Linked DNA regions of Homo sapiens: region 1 is linked to region 2. The links are contacts of gene promoters, found by promoter capture Hi-C in human tissues and cell types (Jung and others, 2019). All regions are on one chromosome and are shown on one strand. The core of a region is centred on a gene start or on the middle of the fragment in contact, and the rest is flanking DNA. Distances in the headings are between cores, read along the strand shown.

Evidence for each region. The method cuts DNA at HindIII sites, captures the fragments that hold promoters and counts their contacts. A contact is called where the count stands out against the background at its distance.
Region 1: a contact is called between a fragment that was not itself captured here and the fragment with the promoter of PPP2R5D in region 2, in 1 of the 25 tissues and cell types used here (IMR-90 fibroblasts).

Annotation. Positions count from the first base shown.
Region 1 is chr6:42,750,552-42,755,926 of GRCh38, reverse strand. It overlaps a transcript of BICRAL not described here and the pseudogene LOC124901226. Among named protein-coding and RNA genes, the nearest start is that of TBCC, 7.1 kb to the right of the region's middle. The HindIII fragment of the contact is 4,090 bases long and covers 988-5,077 here.
Region 2 is chr6:42,982,953-42,988,207 of GRCh38, reverse strand. It overlaps PPP2R5D (protein phosphatase 2 regulatory subunit B'delta), which reads right to left and starts at 3,638. Exons shown (of 16, transcript NM_006245.4): 1 at 3,504-3,638. The coding sequence starts at 3,530. LOC124900215 (a long non-coding RNA gene) reads left to right here and starts at 3,894. Exons shown (of 2, transcript XR_007059580.1): 1 at 3,894-4,376. RefSeq lists silencers at 3,280-3,429, 3,520-3,589 and an enhancer at 3,740-3,859. The HindIII fragment of the contact is 19,136 bases long and covers 1-5,196 here.

The sequences.
Region 1 (5,375 bases), core at 1,783-4,282, 230 kb after region 2:
CGAGATGGGTGGATTTCCTGAGCTCAGGAGTTCAAGACCAACCTGGGCAACACGGTGAAACCCCATCTCTACTAAAATACAAAAAAAAAATTAGCCGGGCGTGGCGGCGTGCGCCTGTAATCCCAGCTACTTGGGATGCTGAAGCAGGAGAATCGCTTGAACCCAGGAGGCGGAGGTTGCAGTGAGCTGAGATCACGCCATTGCACTCCAGCCTGGGCAACAGAGCAAGACTCCATCTCAAAAAAAAAAAAAAAAGAAAGAGGTGACTGGTGGCTCGAGGTCCCAGGCAATGGAAGGAAGAGGACAGAGAACCCTGGTGGGAGCTTTGCCCTGAGTGAGAAGGAGAGAGACAAAGAGGTGGGTCTTCACAGATAAGTTAGAAGTGAGAGGGGAGGCATGTGGAGGTCCTATCTGGCCACCTCTTTTCTGTGAAGAGTAGGTAAGGTCATCTGCTGACAGGCAGTGAGGGTCTTGGGGAGAATGGTGTTCACTTCTAAAGAGTTTTATAGGAAATGCATGAGGGGCTGCAGGAGTCAAGCCCAGACTCTTCAGAGACACCACCTTCCAGGGATACCCCAGCTCCTGAGGAGTAGGCTCTTCACATGAGCTTTTCCCCTCTGACCTGCCCCAAATCCCATTGTCTTCTCTTGAGCTGGTCTCCTGCTTAGATTGCCCCACCTGGGAAGCTCTCATTCATTCCCAACTTCATTCTCCAAGTATTTGCTCAACATCCACACCATACCCAGCCCCATTTCTCTGGACAACACTCTCCCTATTCCCCCAGGGTTTTCAAACCTTCTGCACACTTTCCAGACCCCCTACCTCCACCCTTTTCTCCTCATACTCAGCATGAGACCTCACTGTCTGCTTTATAGAGGACGCAGAAACTATCAGAGTCATCTACCAACTACCATACATTTTCCTGCACCTGTACTCCCCTTTTCCTTTTCTATAAAGAAATGCTGATGCGGCATTTTAAAATTGCAGTTTAACTTAGGGAGGTCTTGATCAGCTGTTTTTGCTTTTGTTTAGAGACAGGGTCTCGTTTTGTTGCCCAGGCTGAAGTGCAGTGGCACGATCATGGCTCACTGCAGCCCCAACTCCTGGGATCAAGCGAGCTTCCTACCTCAGCCTCCTGAATAGCTGCAACTATAGGTGCATGCCACCATGCCCAGACAATTTTTTAAAACATTTTTTTGTAGAGACAGGGTCTCACTATGTTGCCCAGGCTGGTCTCAAACTCTTAGCCTCAAGCAATCCTTTTGCCCCAGCCTTCCAAAGTGCTGGCATTACAGGCATGAACTGCCATGCCCAGCCTTGATCAGCACATTTTAAATGCAATAAATAGAATAGAAAATAGGGTCCACTGCACATAGTAAGAGTATTTATTGTTTCTTAAAACATCTGTTTCAATTATGACACATCTGTTACTATGAGTTGACGTCAAAAAGTCTATGTATGGCACGGTGGCTCACACCTGTAATCCCAGCACTTTGGGAGGCCGAGATGGGCGGATCACAAGGTCAGGAGATCCAGACCATCCTGACTAACACAGTGAAACCCCGTCTCTACTAAAAATACAAAAAAATTAGCCAGGCGTGGTGGCGGGCGCCTGTAGTCCCAGCTACTCGGGAGGCTGAGACAGGAGAATGGCATGAACTCGGGAGGTGGAGCTTGCAGTGAGCCCAGATTGTGCCACTACACTCCAGCCTGGGCAACAGAGCAAGACTCCGTCTCAAAAAAAAAAAAAAAGTTTCTGTATGTTAGCAAATTCTCATTAAAAACTTCAAACACGGCCTGTAATCCCAGCACTTTGGGAAGTGCTCATGCCTTCCCATGAAGTGTAGTGGCTCATGCCTGTAATCCCAGCACTTTGGGAAGTGCTCATGCCTTCCCATGAAGTGTAGTGGCTCATGCCTGTAATCCCAGCACTTTGGGAAGTGCTCATGCCTTCCCATGAAGTGTAGTGGCTCATGCCTGTAATCCCAGCACTTTGGGAAGTGCTCATGCCTTCTCATGAAGTGTAGGGGCTCGTGCCTGTAATCCCAGCACTTTGGGAAGCTGAGGCGGGCAGATCACCTAAGGTCAGGAGTTCAAGACCAGCCTGGCCAACATGGTGAAACCCCATCTCTACTAAAAATACAAAAATTAGCTGGGTGTGGTGGCGCACACCTGTAATCCCAGCTACTCAGGAGGCTGAGGAAGGAGAATCACTTGAACCCAGGAGGCGGGGGTTGCACTGAGCCAAGGTCGTGCCACCGCACTCCAGCCTTGGTGACAGAGTGAGACCCTGTCTGAAAAAAAACAAACAAGTTCAAACAACAGTGCAATAGAGAGGATGTCCCTCCTCCTATCTATAACTACTCCTTGCACCTGTGTTTTAAGTACCATTTCCTCCAGCTTTTCCAGGACCCTTACGTGCTTTATGTCTTCTCTCTTGTTAATTCCTACTCATGCTTTCCCGTTCAGCTCAACCCCCTCTGAAGCTTTCCATGACCATCCCAACAAGGCAACCCCCACCACTAGTGGGCTCCTTGTAACTCTTTCTTTTATAGCAATGATTGGCCAAGTGTAGTAGCTCATGCCTGTAATCCCAGCACTTTGGAAGGCCGAGGCAGGAGGATCCCTTGAAGCCAAGAGTTCAAGACCAGACTGGGCAACACAGCAAGACCCTGTCTCTACAAAAACATTTAAAAATCAGGCCAGGCATGGTGGCTCATGCCTGTAATCCTAGCACCTTGGGAGGGTGAGGTGGATGGATCACCTGAGGTCAGGAGTTCGAGACCAGCCTGGCCAACATGGTGAAACCAGTCTCTACTAAAAATACAAAAAATTAGCCAGGCATGGTGGCAAGTGCCTGTCGTCCCAGCTACTCGGCAGGCTGAGGCAGCAGAATCACTTGAACTTGGGAGGCGGAGGTTGCAGTGAGCCGAGATTGCACCACTGCACTCTAGCCTGGGTGACAGAGCAAAACTCCGTACCCCCCCAACCAAAAAAAAAAAAAAAAAAAAAAAGTCAGCTGGGGGCAGGGCACTGTGGCTCACACCTGTAATCCCAGCCCTTTGGGAAGCAGAGGCAGGTGGATCACCTAAGGTCAGGAGTTGGAGACTAGCTGGCCAACATGGCAAAACTCTGTTTCTACTAAAAATACAAAAATTAGCCACACATGGTGGTGTGTGCCTGTAATCCCAGCTACTAAGGAGGCTGGGGCAGGATAATTGCTTGAACCTGGGAGGTGGAGGCTGCAGTGAGTCAACATGGCGCCACTGCACTCCAGCCTGGGAAACAGTGAGACTCAATCTAAAAAAAAAAATTAGCTGGGCACGGTGGCATGCATCTGTAGTCCCAGCTACTCAGGAGGCTGAAATGGGAGAATTGCTTGAGCCCAGGAGTTTGAGGCTGCAGTGAGCTATAATTATGCCACTGCACTCCAGCTTGGGTGAGAGAGAGACCCAGTCTCAGCAAGCAAAGAACACATTTTACATGTTTTTGTGACTATTTGCCCAAATTAGGCCTTCTTAAGGAGGACAGGGACGATGTCTGTTTTTATCCACCTTGGCAGTCTTAGGGCCTCCCTGGCTCAGTGCTGGGCACAGTTAGTGCTTAATAAACAGATGTTTAGATAAATAAACACGTGCCAGCCTATGTGCTAGACGTTAAGTGTACAATGATGAAAAAAGTTTCAGAAGGTCAAGGGCGTTGAGGCAGAGGAGAGCGCCAGGGGCAAAGGCAGAAGGAAAAGGCTGCTCCTGTCCTGCTTCCCAACAACAGGACCTGCCTGCACAACTGTCACCTTTCACTGTCTTCCTGCCAGAAAGTAGCCAAGGTAGGAAGATTTGCCTAACATTTGATAATTTTGATGTGCACAGCTCTTTAATGAATGCTTTACATCCCATATATAGTCAAGACTTGCTGAAAGATGAATAGGTGATGCTTCTTTCTGGCATCAAACTACTAGAAAAAGGGGCTTGGCCGGGCGCGGTGACTCATGCCTGTAATCCCAGCACTTTGGGAAGCTGAGGCGGGCGGATCATCTGAGGTCAGGAGTTCAAGACCAGCCTGACCAACATGGAGAAACCCCGTCTCTACTAAAAATACAAAATTAGCCCGGCATGGTGGCGCATGCCTATAATCCCAGCCTCTTGGGAGGCTGAGGCAGGAAAATCGCTTGAACCCAGGAGGCGGGGGTTGCGGTGAGCCAAGATCATGCCACTGCACTCCAGCCTGGGCAACAAGGGCAAAACTCCGTCTCAAAAAAAAAAAAAAAAAAAAGAAAAGAAAGAAAAAGGGTCCTTTTATTTGCCTGGGTGTGGCTGGTATCTTCCACCAGTGCAGGGTCCCTGACAAACTCCAGAGAACACCGAAGGGCCTATTCCTTTATTGTTTACCATACCTAAAGACTGTTTTCCTTTGCTTAAATGCTTTCACTACTTACTTCTTGAGGCATGTAACTACAATCATGAGATTCCCTTTGTAACATTAAAAGATCAAATAAATACAACAGACGTTTAAAATTTAACAAATACTGTATAGAGATGCAACCAGCAAAATGCAGACTGTGGGAAACTCTACTGAACAAATGACCAAGCTGCTTCAACAAAACAATTTAGAGAAAAAGGAACCCACACAGTGAAAGTGATTTAAGGCTCTCCACCCAGGACACGGGTCCTCCCACGCCTGAGGCCAATGCTGCCAGGACCTTGGGGTTGGAGGGGGACTTGGCTGACCACATCTTTCAAATAAAGCTGTTTGTCTAACTAAAAAAAAAAAAAAGTGATTTAAGGGACACAATAACTAAATGCAGTGTATGGAACTTGTTTGGATCCTTATTCAAATAAAATAACTTTAAAAAAAGGAAACTGGGCAAGGGGAGGGGGAGCATTAGGACAAATACCTAATGCATACGGGGCTTAAAACCTAGATAACAGGTTGATAGGTGCAGCAAACCACCATGGCACATGTATACCGATGTAACAAAACTGCACATTCTGCACATGCATCCCAGAACTTAAAGTATTAAAAAAAAAAAAAAAAAAAAAAAAAAAAAAAGGCCGGGCGCGGTGGCTCACGCCTGTAATCCCAGCACTTTGGGAGGCTGAGGCAGGCGGATCATCTCAGGTCAGGAGTTCAAGACCAGCCTGGCCCAACATGGTGAAACCCCATCTGTACTAAAAATACAAAAAATTAGCCAGGCATGGTGGTGGGCACCTGTAATCCCAGCTACTCAGGAGGCTGAGGCATGAGAATCACTTGAACCCAGGAGGTGGAGGTTGCAGTAAGCCGAGATCGCGCCATTGCACTCCAGCCTGGGCGACAGAGCAAGACGTCGTCTTGAGAAAAAAGCAAACGTATATTATGGGATAATCAGATGTGAA
Region 2 (5,255 bases), core at 2,389-4,888:
TTAAATCGAGTTATTGTGACTATGGGGGCAAAAGGATTTCAGGGAGAAGAGAGCTCTGTGTGGGCTGGAGTAGGGGGAAGGCTTCTTGGAGGTGGGGAGGAAGAAAGGTGTGGTGTAGAGCAGCTCCATGCAGTAGGGGGAAGGAGTTCCTTCTTTGGCCTGAGCACGCTCCTGCTGTATACTAACCCAGCTGGCCACACTGACCCTTATCAGTGGCTGAGAGCATGGGGTGGAGAGAAATAGGCCGGGGGCAGGGTGCAGGCAGGACACAACATTGAGGTGTCTGCACACACCCCAGACATGAACCCCTTGAACAAAGCTGACCCATCTTCATACATCTCCAATCTATTAGACCATAAGCTGCTTATTCTTTTTTGTACCCCTCCACCCACCCTACAGCACTCAGCATGATGCCTCAGACGTATCTTTCAAAGAATGAGCCTAAGAGAGATCCAGCTGCCTTAGTGTGTGGGTGTGAGTGGGCATGGAGGAACCAGGCCTACCACCCTTGCTCCCTGGCTCCTGCAGAACAGGTGAAGCACACACATTTCAGCCCAGCTCAGTAGTCAAATGCTGTGTAGCACAGAGGTTAAAAGAACATGTTTGGACTCAGCCCTGTGTTTTGGGCCCAACTCTTACTGGCTGTGTAATCACAGGCAAGTTAACTAGCCTCTCTGAGCCTCAGTTTCCTCATCTATTAGATGATGACAATCATAATACCCTCTTCCCTCAGCACAGTGTTAAGGCACATGAAAACCGTAGTGCTGGTCAATGTTATTACTATTATTATGAACAAGAAAAAAATCGGAGGGGGCAGGGGCACCCTACTCAGGAAAATAAAAGAGGTAAGTCCCAGAGGAGAACATGAAGGAAGAGGAGAGATGCGAATCCCTCCAAGAGATTATCTTAGCACCTATCCACTAAGCACGTACTTACCGTGTGAAAAGGAGTTGTCAAACCAAAATGAAACTTAGTTATTATCTCAAAGGGGAAGAAAAGTCTTGTCCACAATTAATTCCCATCCAAGGCCAAACACAAAAGGACCATAAGTGGCCTACTAAGTGTTCTGCAAATCCAGAAAAGAAAGGAGAGTTCACTCCTGACTGAGGGCTCAGAAAGGCTTTAGAGAGGAAGCTGTGAAAGATGGCCAGGAGAGAGGGGACAGGTCATAGATGAGCAATAAAGATCCTCCACCCACAGCCATCCAGACAAACCTCAGTCACACTGGCAACCCCCCTGCCCCTTAGAGCCTGCCAACCATTGAAGAAGGCCAAATGCAACTGAAAATCAAGAGCAGAAAAACCTTATAGGGAGGTGAGAGTTATGCCTGGCTCCATGCACCCCGTTACTTCCAACACCCTTTCCCAACCAAACGTTTACACCCATGGTCCTAGCAAATCTCACTGGCAATTTGTCTTCTTCACAATCTAGTAGGCTATTGCTTTCTGTGGATGGGACAGTATCTAGTCCAACAGACTAAAAATTACAAATGGGTGGGGACCTCACCAGCTTTCCCCGAATTCCATTTCCCTTAGCCCCTGTTGTGGCTGATTTCTGTGTGCATTGTCTACGACTGAGCTACCCAAACCACCTCCGCATGCCCACTCCCCAAGGACAGGGCCTGGGTGGGGCACAAAACCCTGTCCAGCTCACTACTCCCAGGAGGCTCACTATCTAGTACACCATCACCAACCCTGTACTTAGAACCTCAGGCCCTGAAAGGTTAAGGGGACAACTCAGAATCAGAGCTGCCTGGCAAATACAGAACAGCCCCAGGAGAAAAAGTTTGATTGAAAAGGTCAGAGATGGCAGCCCAGTAACCCAGCCAATCAGAGGGCAAATGAAAGCAATATACCTCTGGGGTCATCGAGCAGGTGGCCAGAACACCAGGCCAGAGCCAACCCCCACCAAAAAGGGCCAGCCCCAGGAGAGGAGAAGCTGGGGGAGGCTGGAACTGGTATCCTAGCATCCTATGTGTGAGTCTGTACCTCAAAGGAACCACACCTCTGAGTCAGACCTCAGCAACAGCAGGAAACAGAGGGTAGAAAAAGGCACGGATGAGGAGCAGGGGAAGGCAGCACCGAGGTAGATGAGGAAGGTGAAAGAAGGCAACATTAAGAACTGGCCTGTGGGCCAGGCACGGTGGCTCACACCTGTAATCCCAGCACTTTGGGAGGCCGAGGGGGTCAGATCACCTGAGGTCAGGAGTTCAAGACCAGCCTGATCAACATGGAGAAACCCCGTCTCTACTAAAAATACAAAATTAGCCGGATGTGGTGGCGCATGCCTGTAATTCCAGCTACTTGGGAGGCTGAGGCAGGAGAATCGCTTGAAGCTAGAAGGCAGAGGTTGTGGTGAGCCGAGATCGCGCCATTGCACTCCAGCCTGGGCAACAAGAGCAAAATTCCATCTCAAAAAAAAAAAAAAAAAAAGAAATGGCCTGTGTCAGGACATCATGATAAAGACATGGGTGTTCAGGGGTGGCTGGCCTGCAGGCTAAGAAGGAACAATAATCTGACAGTGAGGACAAATTCCCAATTTGAAGATGGTGTAGCTTAGGAAAGGCAGAAATCCAGCACTGGTGCGAAAAGAAAAAAAAAAAGGAAAAATGCAAAGGTTATCCTAGGATTAAGAATAAGGGTGAGGAGCCTACTCAGATTAGGAAAGGTGACTGGTCTAGGATGCACTTGGGTGACAGTTAGGAGGGCTTTGATACAAAAGAGGCCTTTAAGTCAGGAGACCTGATATTGCAGCTGGGCCTCCAGCAGGCTGTGTGACCTTGGACAAGTCCCTTGCCCTGTCGGGGCCTCAGTCTCCTCATCTGTACCATTAGGGATTGCACTGCATGCGCTCAGAGGTCCCTTCCAGCACCAACGTTGTGAGGTTCCATCAACAGAAGGGCTCAGTCCTGCTTACAAGTTTGTGTGTGAAGGAAGAACTAGAGGGAGGGGCCTAGGCCAGATTTGGGTGGAGGAGAGAGAAAGCAGCGCTGTTCTAGGTCAGGGGCTTGGCATGGAAAGAGAAGGGGCCGTAGGGGACTGCGGGGCGGCTGTCCCAGGCGGGTAGGAAGAGGAGACAAGGGGCTGCTCAGGGCGGGGCGAGGGGGCAATTCTGGAGGAAGGTGCAGTTTCAGATGAGGGGCTGCCCAAACCGAAGGGGGATCGGGGCCAGGGGTGATGGGGGGGACAGAAAAAGCAGGACAGTGACCTGGGAATGGGGCAGATCTGGAAGAAGGAGGTTACCCTGGGCCGGGGGTAAGAGAAGGGAAGAAGGGAGGGAGGTGTATGTGGGGGGAGTCTCTCCGGGGCAAGGTGGGGGAGCTGTCCTAGCTGCGGCACAAGCTGGGGGTGCTGCCAGCCGCGGGGGCGGAGGGCTGGCCCCAGGAGTCCTGCGGGGGCTGGACGGGAGGGTCAGTCTGGGGCTGTCCCGGGCCTGGCTCCGGCCCCTCCCAGAGCTCCGCGCAGGCTCCAAGGCGGCGGTGGGGGAAAAAGGGCCACGCTCACCTTCTCCTTTTTCAGTTTATAGGGCATCTCGGCCCGTCCGGACCCGGCCCGTCTCCTGCGGCCCCGCTCCGGCTCCGGCTTTGCTCGGCCGCACTCGGCCCGCTCGGCGTCTCTTCGCCACCGCCTGCGCGCTGCGCCCGGGTCGAGCGGTGCCTGCGCCTCCAATTGGCCCGAACTCCTACAAAACTGCCTGACAACCAGGCGCCGCCTCCTCGGATTGGTCATTGGAGCCAAGCTGCTTCCTTTTTTTCTTATTGGAAAGAAATAGTACAAACCGCCAGGGTTCGGCTTCCAGAATTGGCTGAAGTGGGTGGTCCCGCCCTAAAGTGGGTCGAGCTTAGAGAAGGAGGCGGGGATAAGGGGAAACCCAAGCTTGGCTAGGAGGGCTGCACTCCAGCGTCTGCTGTGCGTCGGCCTCGGCCATTCTTCGCGGCGCTTGGAGCCCTGCTCTTTCCTTCTAAAGGCTCTCACACTTTGCCCGCTCTGCTACCCTGTCCAGTCGGAATTGGAGGAAGGAAGCCCTAATACGGAGGGCACCTTTCTTCACTGGGGTAAAGTAGCCCTAATTGCAGATGCAAAATTGATGGAGGGAGCTCCCAAGGACCTTCCAAGACACCCGCCTCCCTAGACAGGGGTTGCAGAGGAGCAAAGGGGAAGCCTGGCAGGGCTAGGACCTGGGCGAAATGAGTGGAGAATCCCTGGCTTGGTGCAACTTTAGGAAGAGGGTCCCCGTTGCTACTGCAAGTGTACTGGGATTGGGGAACCAGCTAGATTTGAGCAGTTGGGAACGCAGTGGAAAAGCAACTTCATTGTTGACTGTCTCAGGAAATCCATCCCTTACTTGCCACCCTGCTCAAGTCCGTGTTCTAATGGGTAAGACTCAGTTTATGCCCACAAAGAGTTCGCAGTCTGGTGAATCACAGATGTGTATAAACAAAGGATTAAGAGAGAATGTAAACCAGGCAGGCACGGTGTCTCACGCCTGTAATCCCAACACTTTGGGAGGCTGAGGCAGGAGGATCACCTGAGGTCAGAGGTTCGAGACCAGCCTGGCCAACATGGCGAAACCCCGTCTCTATTAAAAATACAAAAATTAGCTGGGTGTGGTGGTGCACGCCTGTAATCCCAGCTACTCGGGAGGCTGAGGCAGGAGAATCACTTGAACCCGGGAGACGGAGGTTGCAGTGAGCCGAGATCACACCACTGCACTCCAGCCTGGGCGACAGAGCAAGACTCTGTCTCAAAACAGCAACAATGACGACAAAAAGAATAAACCTGTGGCCAGGCTCGGTGGCTCACGCCTGTAGTCCCAACACTTTGGGAGACCAAAGTGGGCAGATCACGAGGTCAGGAGTTTGAGACCAGCCTGACCATAGTGGTGAAACCCCATTTCTACTAAAAATACAAAAATTAGACAGGGTGCGGTGGCTCACGCCTGTAATCCCAGCACTTTGGGAGGCCGAGGTGGGCGGATCACGAGTCAAGAGATCGAGGCCATCCCGGCCAACATGGTGAAACCATGCCTCTATGAAAAATACAAAAATTAGCGGGGCGTGGTGGCGCGCGCCTGTAGTCCCAGCTACTCGGGAGACTGAAGCAGGAGAATCACTTGAACCCGGTAGGAGGCTGAGGCAGGAGAATTACTTGACCCCGGTAGGTGGAGGTTGCAGTGAGCCGAGATCATGCCACTGCGCTCCAGCCTGGGCGACAGAGCAAGACTCCGTCTACAAAAAAAAAAGAAGAAACCTGTGA